2 separate regions of the Homo sapiens genome follow, and region 1 is linked to region 2. Evidence: promoter capture Hi-C in human tissues and cell types (Jung and others, 2019). All regions are on one chromosome and are shown on one strand. The core of a region is centred on a gene start or on the middle of the fragment in contact, and the rest is flanking DNA. Distances in the headings are between cores, read along the strand shown. Region 1 overlaps ITPR1 (inositol 1,4,5-trisphosphate receptor type 1). Region 2 holds the start of SUMF1 (sulfatase modifying factor 1).

What was found. The method cuts DNA at HindIII sites, captures the fragments that hold promoters and counts their contacts. A contact is called where the count stands out against the background at its distance.
Region 1: a contact is called between a fragment that was not itself captured here and the fragment with the promoter of SUMF1 in region 2, in 1 of the 25 tissues and cell types used here (liver).

The regions. Positions count from the first base shown.
Region 1 is chr3:4,595,700-4,603,101 of GRCh38, reverse strand. All of the region lies in intron 4 of ITPR1 (inositol 1,4,5-trisphosphate receptor type 1), which reads right to left. Among named protein-coding and RNA genes, the nearest start is that of ITPR1, 110 kb to the right of the region's middle. The HindIII fragment of the contact is 4,418 bases long and covers 1,836-6,253 here.
Region 2 is chr3:4,463,573-4,470,759 of GRCh38, reverse strand. SUMF1 (sulfatase modifying factor 1) reads left to right here and starts at 3,491. Exons shown (of 9, transcript NM_182760.4): 1 at 3,491-3,784. The coding sequence starts at 3,515. It overlaps LOC124909340 (a long non-coding RNA gene), which reads right to left and starts at 3,936. Exons shown (of 2, transcript XR_007095789.1): 1 at 3,252-3,936; 2 at 1,361-2,096. RefSeq lists an enhancer at 3,265-3,444 and a silencer at 3,615-3,794. The HindIII fragment of the contact is 11,378 bases long and covers 1-7,187 here.

The sequences.
Region 1 (7,402 bases), core at 2,795-5,294, 130 kb before region 2:
GTGGATGTTTTATTATTTTATTTGATGCCTGTTGTTTCATCTGCATATATTTTGTTACCAGTAAGCTTGAACATTTTTTACATGTAGTCATTTTTATTGAGATATTGTTCACATCCAACAAAATTCAGAGTACAACTCAGCAGTTTTTAGAAAATCCACAGATTGGTACCACCACCACTATCGAATTCCAGAACATTTGCATTATCCCCCACAAAAACATCCTATACCCATTAATAGTCACTCCCCATTCTCCCCTTCTCTCAAGAGCCCAGTTATCTAGTGTCTGTCTCTATGAATTCTCGGTATTTTACATAAATAGAATCACAAAATAGGTAGCCTTTTTGTGACAGGCTTCTTTCACTTAGCACGAGGTTTGCAAGGTTCATGCATGTTGTAGCAGGTACTGGCACTTCATTCCTTTTTATGACTGAATAATATTCCACTGTGTGTCTACAACCCTTTTTAAAATCCACTTATTAGCTGATGGACATTTGAGTTGTTTCTACTTTTTAGCTACGATGAATAATGTTGCTATAAATGTTTATGTACAAGTTTTTTTTTTTTTTTTTTTTTCTGAGAGGGTCTCACTCCCATTACCCAGGCTAGAGTGCAATGGTGCAATGTCAGCTCACTGCAGCCTTGACCTCCTAGGCCCGGGTCATTCTCCCACCTCAGTCTCCTGAATAGCTGGGACTACAGGTGCACACCACCATGCCTGGCTAATTTTTTGTTGTTGTTGTTGTTAGCAGAGACAGGGTTTTGCCATGTTGCCTAGGCTAGTCTCAAACTCCTGGGCCCAAGCAATCCACCCACCTTGGCCTCCCAAAGTGCTGAAATTGTAGGTGTAAATAGGTGCACCTGGCTCGTGTACAAGTTTTTATGTAGACGTATGTTTTCAATTCATTTGGGTATATCCCTAAGGAGTGAAACTGCTGAATCATATAGTAACTCTATGTTTAACCTTTTGAGGAATTGCCTAACTTTTACAAAGTGGTTGTGTCATTTTCAATCCTGCCAGCAATGTGTGAGAGTTGCCATTTCTCCACATTCTCACCACTGCTTATTATTGTACATCTTTTTTACTCTAGCCATCCTAGGGATTTCTCACTGTGATTTTGATTTGCATTTCCCTAATGACTAATGCTACTGAACATTTCTGCATGTGCTTATTAGCCATTTATATGTTTTCTTTGGAGAAACGTCTATTCAAATCTTTTTCCTATTTTTAAATTGGGCTATTTGTCTTTTACTATTGAGCTGTGAGAAGTCTTTATATACTCTATATACTGGTCCCATATCATAAAAAAAATTGAAAGTATTGTCTACTTTTCTATGAGTTGTCTCTTCACTAGACAGTATCCTTTGAAGCAGGAAAGGTTTTAATTTTGACGAAGTGCAATTTATCTAATTTTCTTTTATTGCTTATGCTGTTGGTGTCATATTAAGAACCTGTCACCCAATTCAGGACCATGAAGATTTACACCTATGTTTTCTTCTAGGAGGTGTATAGTTTTAGCTCTTATATTTAGAGCTTTGATTCATTTTGAGTTAACTTTTGCATACAGTGTGAGGTAGGTGTTCAACACTTTTTTTTTTTTTTTTGAGACAGGGTCTCACTCCATTGCCCAGGCTACAGTGCAGTGCAGCCTCGACCTCCTGGGCTCAGGTGATCCTCCCACCTCAGCCTCCCGAGTAGCTGGGACTACAGGTGTATGCAACCATGCCTGGCTAATTTTTGTATTTTTTGCACACATAGGGTTTCACCATGTTGCCCAGGCTGGGTTCGAACTCCTGGGCTCAAGTGATTCTCCCACCTTGGCCTCCCAAAGTACTGGGATTACAGGCAGGAGCCAATGAGCCTGGCTCAACTTTACTTTTTTGCATGTGGAAATCCAGTTGCCCCAGTGCCAAAAAAAAAAAAAAAAAGAATATTTTTCCCCATTTAATTGTTCTGATATCTATGTTGAAAAATCAATTGACCATAAATTATGGGTTTCCTTCCCCTTTACATCTAACAGGTGATTCATGTCTACCAAACCCTCTCCACAGCCCACCACCACTAACAAAAGAAGAACAGAATTCCTCAATTAGTTACTCAGAAAATATTTACTTTCTGAAAAGAATTAATTTACTCCAGGAAGAAATGCAACTTAACAATGAATGAATATCTCTGAACAACACAAAAATCATGGTGTGCTGTCATGAGTTGTCCCCACACAATCAACAAATTAAATAGTGCTCATATTTTTATTTCTCCATTCCTGCATTGTCTGATGGCTACTGACATTCTGTGGGAGTCGCCCTTGTTGGGGGTGGGGAGTGAATCAATTTTAGAGCGACAGGAAATTAGCTCATGTGACCCAATCCTGACCTCCCAAGGAATATGTCTACCATCAACTTCACATTCCCAAAATGCCACCCTTCACACCATAATCCCCACATTACAGTTACTAAACAGTCCACGGACTATCATTTTACGTAGAAGACACAAACATTCACATATATTTGACAAATGCCAGGAAAATGTTCTCAATTTAGAGGCGAAAAATTAAAGCTATTTAAATTCTTCTCAAAACAGACACAGACACACACACAAACACGCACACACACACACACAAAACAGGAAGGTCCGTAGAGATGGTACCCTTTCCGAGCTCCAGCCTGTGGGCCCTCAAAGAGCCCATCCACAGTATCCCCAGCAAGACCACCCACAACAAAACCTGGGGCTCGGAATCTCCTTAGAATCACAGAATCAATACACGACCACAGAAATCCTCAACACCAGTTCTAATTCACAAGGGAACTTGAGGGATGTGTAGAATGAATGGCTGTGGGTACCAGAAACTGGGGGCCAGCATGTCCAAAAATCTGCCTTGAGTGGAAACTGTGGTATGCAATGAAACAATGCCACAGAGGTAAAATTTTTAAAAAAGACAAAAAGACTAAATAAACTATTGATGCATACAACACAAATGTATTGTAACATACTTATGCTATGTGAAAGAGCTCGGGCAAAAGAGAAGACTTGCTGTACAATTCCATTTGTACATACAATGCTAGGAAATGCAAATAACAGCGATAAAGCACATCAGGCTTCCTGGGGGCATGTACCAGTGTAGGAAGGAGGGAGTAGGGACAACCAATGGGCAGGAGGAGACTTCTGGGAGAGACTAAGATCTTCATTATCCTGTGGTGAGTTTCACGGTTTCATACATACGTCAAAACTGACAACTATATCCAACACCCTACATATTGGCACTCCAACCTGACACTGTCCACTCCAAGACTGATCCAGTGGAGAGTATATCACACATGTGCCTCCTGCTGGTATCAGGGAAGTCAAGTCCAACACACTGCAGAACTCAGCTGCAAAAACAGCAGCCACTGTCGGAGTAGGGGAAGGCTTGCTGCAACCAAGGTCCTTCATTCAACCATTTTCACGTTTAGAGTTCACTGCTTCTCTTGTTCCCAGTTTTCATCAATCAAGTACAGCATCACAAACCCAACTGCCTACAGCCATCACTCAAGAACTGTAAGGTGAGGACCAAAGGAAGTAGGATGTTGGCAAGACTGTAAAAGTCCTTCTCCCCTCAAAAGAAGAAAGCTTTACTTAGTTTCTGACACTTGTTGTCATCTGGCAATGCTAATCCACTGTGGCTAGATTTTCTGCATTTTCCCCCAAAAGCCAGAAATTTGTTTTTTATGTAAAATCTCCCAAACTGTAAGGGTAAACCAATTAACTCAGATTTTAAAACACTGTGCAAGTTAAACAAAAAACAAGCGTGAGCAGGAGTCAGCCTATGAGCTGCTGATTTGCAGCTACAGAGAGTGAAGGCCATGAACACAGGCTCTGTGGTTACTAGCTCTGTGACCGCAGGCAACATATTCAACCTCTCTGAGATCCCATATCCATATCAGCAAACCGGGACTAACAATAAAGGATCCCCATCTGAGGACTGTAGTAAAAATGAAATATTTTACCCATAGGAAACCCTCAGTAAGTATTCTCAATATTAGTCTCCAAGTGAGAACATTTCAATAGGTTTTTCCCAAAATTAGGTGATAGCCAGAAAAGATGAAAAAAAAAAAAAAGCTCATCAGTAATGATCCTGTGCACTATAGACCACACCTAGAATATGACCTTTAGTTCTGGAAGCCACACTGTACAAAAGAGGAAAAATAGTGGATATGGCCACTGTGAGAGGTACCGGGACACCCAGTGGGTTTGACGATGTTCTCAGAGTAAAGTGAGATTCAGAGAAGTTCAGGAAATGACATAAAATTGCACCTGAATTGAAACACTCTGATTTAGAGCCCAAATTTTTAGGTATAATTTTGGAAAACTACATTGGGACAAAGTTGGGACAATTTCTTTATTGCAAGACTTCACAGAGCCTTTAATATATAACTCAGCCACTTATGAACATCTTAAAGGCAGAAGTGATAACCATATTTCCTAAAACTTTTCTGCATTTTTTTTAAGACAGGGTCTAGCTCCATCTCCCAGGCTGAAGTGCAGTGGTGTGATCATGGCTCACTGCAACCTCAACCTCCCGAGCTCAAGCAATCCTCCTGTCTCGGCCCCACCGAGTAGCTGGGATCACAGGCACCCACCACCACACCCAGCTAATTTTTGTATTTTTTTGTAGAGACGGGGTCTCACTGCATTGCCCAGGCTGGTCTCAAACTTCTGGGCTCAACTGATTCACCCACTTCATTCTCCCAAAGTGCTGAGATTATAGGCGTGAGCCACTGCACCCAGCCTGCCTTTATTTTTTAATTCTCTGTTCAAACAAGGGTCTCCCCTAAGTGAGGAGAGGACCTCCTTGCTACACTCAAGTATCACACATCCTGGTTAAAGAGATTACTACCATATGACATGCACAGAAGCCAATGACAGGTCACAGAGGAGGATTTGCTTCCTTTCAACCAGGGGAGAGGGGAAGGATGGTACAAATTTTAACTGAGAGGAAGCACTAAAGTTCTAGCCATGCAAGGCCCCATAGACCCTGCATAGGTGCTAAAGGCCCATGCCATGTGCCAACCAATAAGACGCAGGAAACGGAAGACTCAGCAGGCACTCAGTCACAGAATCACACCGCAGGAAAGCTGAAGGATGGTTTATCAACCTAGCTCTCTGAATCTGAGTCTTCTAATACTATCTGCCTCCTAGTACATGGGATTGGTCTCCACAGATGTTTGCAAAACCAAGTTCAGGCATGAACACTAGTGAGAAGGCCACTGTGACTCTGTATACTTTAAACTCTGGCCAGACAGCCAGGAATGGTCTGCCAAGCTAGGAGGTTACCTGCAATGAACAATGGCTAAATAGGATCACATATCACACCAGGTTGCAGTTTCCAGATCAAAGTTAACCTGGACTTTACCTCTAGCCAAACCGGGTCACTGACCACTTCCAAAACACAGCTTGCTTTCTCTCTCATTTCTACAATTTGATGCACACTCCCTGGTGCCTAGAATGTGCCCCCTTGCCTCATCTCTTTCACAGAGGAGCCCAAATGCCCCTTTCCCTCGGTGATGCCAGCCAGAAGTCATCTCTCCAACTTGGGAAATTCCAACACCCTTTTGTCTTCCCTCTCTTAGGATACTTCTATACGGCCTCGGATTACTGTGTCATTTCCTTACCACACTACAGTCTCCGTGGGGGCTCAAATGACGTCTTCATCATCTACATACACCCAAATCCCCATAAAACCTTACTTGCTGTTCTGCACATCTGGATATATTTACTGGACTAATAGTAGCTTCATTTAAAAAACATTACCTTAAGCAAAATTTGCCAGCTGGTTGACTTCAAGCCAAATCCAGCTCACAGACAACATTCTATCTGGCCTACACAATGTTTTAAACAGGCTGGTATTAATTGCCACTATTTTTAAAAGAGGGCAATTTCACATTCAAATCCACCTCCACATCTTTTCCTTAAAAAACAAACAAAACAAATGAACCAGGATTTGGCACCACGGGGCTCATATTTCTGCATGGCAGCAAGAAGCTGGAGGCGAATAAGAAGACCCCTTCAGACAGGCCACATAGTTCCTTTTCTCACGCAGTCCTCTCTGAGCAAATGTACTCACTCAATGCTCTACAATCCTAACTCTCTTTTGCTGAACATACAGTAAGCGGCAAACCCCTGGTAACATATCAACACACTAAAACTATCAGCCTCTAAAAGGTGACGTACTTTTACTGACCCAGAGAAACAATATAAAGTCAACTTGTTTCCATGTGAATTACAACCAGATTCCTATTCCCCCAGGGAGTGACATCTGGCTTGCCCTATATAATGAGCATGGAGGAGTTGGGGTTTAAACACTGCCAGGGTATACAAATGAAAGGTGACTGTGGGAAGACCAGCAGCTAACGAGCAGCTCTGATCACAAGAGGCTAAGATTTCAGGGAGGAAAGACAGTTCCATCTACCAGAATTAAAAGGATTCTAGCAGAGGCAGTCATATAACCCATATGACCTCAAACCAAAAAGGTGACACTTTATACCTTTATTACAATAACAACCTGGTTCAGATAACTAAAAACCCATCTGTGACCACCAGTTGCTAAGCCTTTTGAAACACAAATAAACCCCATGTTCCAACCGTGCTAGCTTTAAATAAGTGATTAGTAAAGCAACAAACACCATTGTATATAGTGAACAGACTATTACTTCACTCAGCTAATAAGTCTGCGATTTGGAACCAAAGATGATAAATACAGAGTAGACATAAACATTTTTAAAAACTAATACTTTAAAAGCAGGAAAGAAAAACTCATGGAAAGAGTTTATCTTATGGTAAAAAGCCTTGGCTTTTTACCATAAAGTCAGACCGTTTACAATAAACTCTAAGGAACTTTTGCTTAATTCTTGGCTCATCAGGAAATTTCGCTGTAGAAACTTACCTGAAGTATAGATACATAGATAGCAACTTAAGCTCGGTGAAATGCAGAGCTTTCCAAAGTGCAGAGAAGTTTTGAGAAGAGCATTTGTCTGTAATTTGGACGTGTCACAATTCTGTAACCGCTGCTGGTATTCACAGCAAACGCCCCCACCCCCTGCAATAAATCAGGGGATCTGATTTCATTTCTGGTATCACCTTCATCAGTTGAGTGGTTGTGGGAGTGGCAGGGCAGGCTGCACTTAGGCCAGTTTCAAAGAAAAACATACAGTCACCATAGTTCTTCATCTACGACATGAGAGCCATACCTGACCTTTCTGATTTCTTAAGAACATTCCGCCACTGCCATGCTACCACAATGCTCTCAAAGGTCATCAGTGACCTAAATGCTAAAGTCAACTGACTTCTCAGACCTCATCCTCTCCAGTCTTGGTGCCATGCGACCTTCTTCATCACCTCCCCTCAAAGCATCCACCTCCCTGCAACCCC
Region 2 (7,187 bases), core at 2,242-4,741:
CCCACTTCACAGTGAAGGAGGTGCAGGGGTAGGCCATGATCACAGAATCCAGTGGTTTTATCCCTTACAATACGAACCCAAAGCAGCTGGCCTCATAAAGGGTGAAAATGGCTTACTGAAAGCACAGCTGAAACGCCAGCTTGGATGCAATTTCCTGCAAAGATGGGGCCATCTATAAGGATGCAGTATACGCCCTCAATTAGAGATGTCAGACTTGTTCCCACGTAGGAAGAATATATAGGTTCCACCAAGAGGTGGAAGTAGAAGTAGCCCCACTTACTATTACTCCTACTGACTTACTGGGATTTTGTTCTCCCATCCCTGCAACTCTGAGCTCTGCAGAGCTGCAGGTCCTGATCCACAAAGGGATGCTGTCTTTCTGTGGACACAACCAGGGTCCCATTGAACTACAAGCCATGGCTACCATCAGGGCACTTTGCATTCCCTGTGTTCAGGAACCAGAAAGCAAGAGAAGCCTCTAACCTGGAGGGAAAATTGATGCTGCTCAGCAGGAAGAGTGTCAGATGTCTTCTCAAAACTGCAGTGGCACCAACTTTCACAGTAAAAGCTTACCAGAACATCCATGACTTGGCCCAATGTTACCTTTCTGTTCTCCTTTCATCCATGACTTGGCCCAATGTTACCTTTCTCATCTCCTTTCCTTTCTTCTCTCCCCCTTGCTCACTCCACTGTAGCCATGCTGAACTCTTTGATGTTCAGTGAGCAGACAAGCTGCTTTCAGGACTGGGGTCTTTCATCCTCCCAGCTTCATGAGATAGAAGGAGCAAGAAAGGCTACAAAATGCAGAAGGAGCTCACACGTGAGACGGAGGGTGAGAGATATTTTATATAATTACACTAATTCGTACGAGCTGATGGCTGAGTTGGACTTTTTACCTCTTAATTTTTAGAACAAGCCTCCTCACTGACAGGAGCAAAATATTAGAGTGGAAAATATTGATGAGAAATCTCTCATCGATCTCATACTCATTGATTATTGACTAAAAAGTTAGCCTGAGACAAAAGAATGATCGTCCTGGAGAACCAACAAAGTTCCATCTTTCATAATGATTAGTAATAGCAAAGTTATTTTTGAGATATGTTAAATGTCAGGTACCAGGCTACACCTTTTATATACTTTGTGTTATTTAATCCCCATAAAATCTATAAGAAAAAGGAATTATTATTCCCATTTCACACACGAAGAAATAGAGGCTCAGAAAGCTGAAATAATTTGCCTAGGTCATACTTCATGTAAAGTGGCCAGCTTTAACCACAGCTCTTTGTGAGTCTAAGACCTATATTATTTTCTCCACAATTTGATTCCCCTTAAGAGAAAGAGATAATCGTTACTTCATTTGTTCATTCACTTATCCATAATTTAATAAATGTTCACTGAGTGATCATGTGCAGGCTTGGCCTGATTTTGCTGATACAGTGGCAAACGAATAGGCTCCTGCCTTACCTTCATGGAGGTTATAGCCTAATGGTATAGCTGGACCAGGAATCAAAGAAGTTCAGGTCTCTGAAGCGCAGCTGACACAGCATGTGCTGAGACTGATATTTGAAGGAGGCGAACAAAGATTACCGTTGACCTAGACCTTGACTATATATTATGCACAGTAAATACATACAACCTTGGTTAAGGCATTGACCTTTTAGCTTCATCAATTTTGAAATGAGTATAGTAATAATACATTTCTTGCCAAGTGGTTGTAATCTCAAATGAGAAAATGTGTGAAAGGCCTTGGCAAACTGTAAAATAGTCAACAAGGAGAAAAGGCCTTTTTTTTTTTTTTGAGAGATGGTCTCACTTTGTCACCCAGGCTGGAGTGCAGTGGCACAATCATGGCTCACTGCAGCCTCTGCCTACCAGGCTCAAGTGATCCTCCTGCCTCAGCCTCCGAAGTAGCCAGGACCACCGGTGTGCGTCACCATGGCCAGTTAATTTTCTTAATTTTTTGTAGAGACAAGGTCTTGCTGTGTTGCCCAGGCTGGTCTCAAGCTCCTGGCCTCTAGCGATTCTCCTGCCTCGGCCTCCTAAAGTGCTGGGATTACAGGCTTGAGACACGGTGCCTGGCTGGTCTTTTCTTTATGCTAAAAAAATTCAAACAGATGCTACATTAGAATAGTGCAATAAACACCCAGATGCCCATCAACCAGCTATGACAGTTATCAACTCATGGCCAATCATGCTTCATCTTTAGCCAGACCCTGATTACCCATTTTTTGGGAAGCAAATCTTTGACTGCCTATATTTTTATCCATATATATATATGTGTGTGTGTGTGTGTGTGTGTGTGTATACCTCAGTGAGTGTGTGTGTACCTCAGTGAGGGGATTCTTTTAAAAAATATAGCCACAAATACCATTATTACTCCTAAAAGCCTAAAAACAAAATTTACAGCAATTCCTTAATTTTATCAAATATTATAATTTGACTTAGTGGTTAAATTTCCCTGATTATCTCAAAAATTTTGAACTCAGTAGGTTTGAATTAGTATTTAGATAAGGTTCACATATTGCAGCTGGCTGCTATGTTTTTTTTTTTTTTTTTTTTTTCAGATGGAGTCTTGCTCTGTCCCCAGGCTGGAGTGCGGTGGCGCCATCTCGGCTCACTGCAAGCTCCACCTCCCGGATTCATGCCATTCTCCTGCCTCAGCCTCCCGAGTAGCTGGGACTACAGGCGCGTGCCACCACGCCGGGCTAATTTTTTGTATTTTTTAGTAGAGATGGGGTTTCACCGTGTTAGCCAGGATGGTCTCGATCTCCTGACCTCGTGATCCACCCGCCTCGGCCTCCCAAAGTGCTGGGATTACAGGCTTGAGCCACCGCGCCCGGCCTGCTATGTTGTTTTTTAATCTGTAAGTTTCTCCTTCATCTTCTTTTTGTTTTGGTTTTGCATTTTGTTCGATTACGGAACTGTAGAACAGTGGTTCTTAAACTTAAGTGTGGATTAGAATCATCTGGAGAGCTTGTGAAACCCTGGATTGCTGTGTCCAGTCCCCACGGATTCTGATTCCGTATTGTATTTCTCTTTTTTTTTTGAGACGGAGTCTTGCTCTGTCGCCGAGGCTGGAGTGCAGTGGCGGGATCTGGGCTCACTGAAACCTCCGCCTCCCAGGTTCAAACGATTCTCCTGCCTTGGCCTCCCGACTAGCTGGGACTACAAGCGCGCCATTACTGGGTCTTTGTGAGGATTAAATGAGATTTTAAAAAGTGAAGTGCTTAGCATAGTACTCTGGCACTTACCAAATGCCCAGCAAATTTGACTGTTATTTTTCAACCAAGAAATCATAAAGGGGTGCACGGTCTGTGGAAGGCCTTGAGTTTTGTGGAGTTTTGTGTTTTGCTGCGTTTTGACGTTAGCACAGGCAAGCAGCAGCGCCAAAGAAGTACCTGAAGAAAGGTGAAGAGCAACTCTCCTGGTCACTTCGTAAGTCAGCTCAAAATTCTGCCCCTTTAAGGAGGGCTCAGCCACGTGACCAACCGGGTCACATGGCCCGCGGGACAACATGGCTGCGCCCGCACTAGGGCTGGTGTGTGGACGTTGCCCTGAGCTGGGTCTCGTCCTCTTGCTGCTGCTGCTCTCGCTGCTGTGTGGAGCGGCAGGGAGCCAGGAGGCCGGGACCGGTGCGGGCGCGGGGTCCCTTGCGGGTTCTTGCGGCTGCGGCACGCCCCAGCGGCCTGGCGCCCATGGCAGTTCGGCAGCCGCTCACCGATACTCGCGGGAGGCTAACGCTCCGGGCCCCGTACCCGGAGAGCGGCAACTCGCGCACTCAAAGGTGCTCCATCGATTCCTCCGAGGCGGGTGGGGGCTGCTCGGTTCCTGGACGGGGTTGGAGTAGGCAAAGCAAGGCACTAGTAGGAAGGGAAGTAAAGGTTATAACCACACCCCAAATCGAGCACCTGCTGTTCCCGTATGAGGAGTTCCTTCTCCGTGCCTCACCGGAAGACTCCATTTAATTGACCATTAGGGAGTTTGGTTTGAGGGTTATTGTTACTTCTTTACCCCCTATTTCTTTCTCCCTCCAACCTGTTCTCTTAATGAGGATCTCATAATTTTAAGGCAATCAAATTATGGTTTAAATCACCATTTCCTCTCTTATTAACGGAATAAATTAGGATCCTGGGTCTCAGTATCTTCACCAGGGTTGTTGTATACTTATCTGTAGTCTCCTCGAGTACACTCTGCTTGAGGACAAGGGCTTGAATTGTTTATCCTGCTATTCTTAGCACTTTAGCACTTAGGAAGGGCTAAGCAAACTGTAGTTGTTTTATTGCTATTATTTATCTGTCTTGCTTAGCGCCTGTATGTGTTAGGTGCCGGGATATATAAATAACTTACTGGCCGGGCGCGGTGGCTCACATGCCTGTAATCCCAGCACTTTGGGAGGCCGAAGCGCGCGGATCACGAGGTCAGGAGTTCGAGACCAGCCTGGCCAACATGGCGAAACCCCGTCTCTACTAAAAATACAAAAATTAGCCGGGCGTGGTGGCGGGCGCCTGTAATCCCAGCTACTCGGGAGGCTGAGGCAGGAGAATTGCTGGAACCCGGGAGGCGGAGGTTGCAGTGAGCCGAGATCTTGCCACTGCACTCCAGCCTGGGCGACAGGGCGAGACTCCGTCTCGAAAAAAAAAAAGAAAGAAAGAAATAACTGTTACTTCAATCTGTCTGCCCGGTATTTTGCATATTGATGTGTTGTCGAAACAACTTATGGGTCTAAAGGTCAGGTCTTCTGACTCCTAAACTAGTGCTCCTTCTTGTTTACTTAGCAGACACTATCCTTTTCCCATTCCATTTTTCTTTCCTTTGGGTTAATCCTGACCAATATTTAGGACTTAGGTGAGAGGTAACATCCACAGTAGGTTTTACCTGATCTCCTCTTTCTCTCCCCTTCAATATTTCCGTATCCTGCCTCAGTAGTTATGTGTTTATTCTGACATAACAATTATTAAAGATGTTTTTCTGCTGATGTCTCTCCCCAACTGGACTGTGAGGGTGATGGGGTCAGGACCATGATTTAGTCTCTCAGGTGTAGAGTGTAGGAGGTTGATACCTGGGCTTCTCATTGTTTTTCCATCCTGTATAATTTTTGGCCTTTACTTTTTTTCCTGTTACCCTTAGAGCATGTCCTGCAGTACTGTTTATCTTTTGTGTGTTGAAGACTCCTGATTACTGTTTTAGTGTGTATTGGCCATACTTGATATTAATTCCTCTCTAACTTGCCTGGTAATTGATAATCAATCTCTCTTTCTTTTTTCTTTTCTTTTTTTTTTTTTTAGACGGAGTCTCGCTCTGTCACCAGGCTGGAGTGCAGTGGCGCGATCTCCGCTCACTGCAATCTCCACCTCCTGGGTTCGAATGATTCTCCTTCCTGCCTCAGCCTCCCAAGTAGCTGGGATTACAGGCACACGCCACCATACCCAGCTAATTTTTGTATTTTTAATAGAGATGGGGTTTCACCATGTTGGCCCGGATGGTCTCAATCTCCTGACCTTGTGATCCGCTTGCCTTGGCCTCCCAGCGTGCTGGGATTACAAACGTGAGCCACCGCGCCAAGCCAGTCTGTCCCTCTTTCTAAGGAGAAATCCTTACATCTGTTTATCTATTTTTTAATAGGGCAGCCATCTCATTTGCATATATACATTGGTCTGTCTCAAAATTTTATCTAGATTCCTCTGGCAAGCATTGAACATTTTTCATTTTTAAACATTCTATTTTCCTCTGGGTTCCAGAATGGGATGTGGATGTTAGAATCTTTTGGATTACATTTACAAGATGTACATTTTTCATCCCTATAGAGTGGTTTTGTGTCTTGACTGGATGCTATATGGGCCATCTTTGGCCAGTTCTTATAGTCTGCTTTCTACAATGCTTAGGGGCATCTCAATTTATTAACAAATTAGTGGTTGATGAGAATATACCTTCAAGCCTTCAAGGGCTGAACTTAATGACTGAAACTGAAGCAGTCTTGTTATCAAGACAATGACGTCATAGGAGGCTGTTCTTAATCTCTCTATTTTCCTTGGTTTCAAATGTTTTAGTTCATGTGCAGATGACTTTGGTCTAATTCTGACACTTTACCATTTATTCTAAATTCAGGAACTCCAATATTTCAGGAGAAGTAAATGAGCATAGTGGTGTTTCTGCCTTTTTTCCCCTCTTTGTTTTCTGTTTATTTGGTTTAATTAAACAAATGTTTATTTGGCACATTACTATATAACACTTGTTATGTAAGATTCATCCTATGTGCTGGGCATACAGAAAAAGACCCATACACTACCCACATGGCATTTACACTCTGGTAGGTGTTTCTCTCTCTCTCACACACACACACACACACAAACACACACAGACACACACATAAGTATCATTTTTCTATAGTGAGAATACTATAGGAGGGATATGTCCAGAGTACCTGGAGAGGAAGAAAGAATTAATTCTTCATGGACAAGTCGAGTAGTGCCTCAAAAAAAAAAAGGCCACATTTGAGCTAGGCCTTGGAGGAAATATTTTTCGGAGCTGGGAATGGAATTCCAGATTCAAGGACATTCCAAGAAGGAGAATAGTATCAACACATGGCACATTGTGGAAATGCGTGGTGTGTGCTGGGAAACATAAGTGATTTAAGATCTGGGAGTGACATGTTCACACTTTTTAATGTAACACTTTTTAGATGAGTCTTTTTTTGTTTTTGTGTATTCATACAATGAGTGTGTGTGGCAAGGTGAGGGGCACAGAGAAATAACACTGGGCTTTGCCCTCAAGAAATTTTCAGTTTCACTAGAAAGTTATGGCGATTAGAATTGTCTGGGAAACAATATAGATGTTTAAAAATTTAATGTGTATTCCCTCTGGTTATAAAAATATGATTCTCATTGAGAAAATTATCCTAATAGTTTTCTGCGTGGGTTATGATTTTGTAACAAGGAAGCAAAATGTTTTAGTCTGCTTTTATCTTTTAGAAGAGTTATTTGAAAGGCATTTAGGATCATGGGATGCTAAGATTGTAGGTGGCATGTCTGTACATATGGATAAAGTCAGTCTTGATTTCCTGTCTGAGGAGGTTTCTGACTGGTAATGCTTCCCTGGGCAATGAGGCACAATCGAATGCCGTCTCTTCCATGAAACCTTTCCACCTCCTACAAAGAAGTAGTTTTTCTATCCTCTCAGTTCCCATAGCT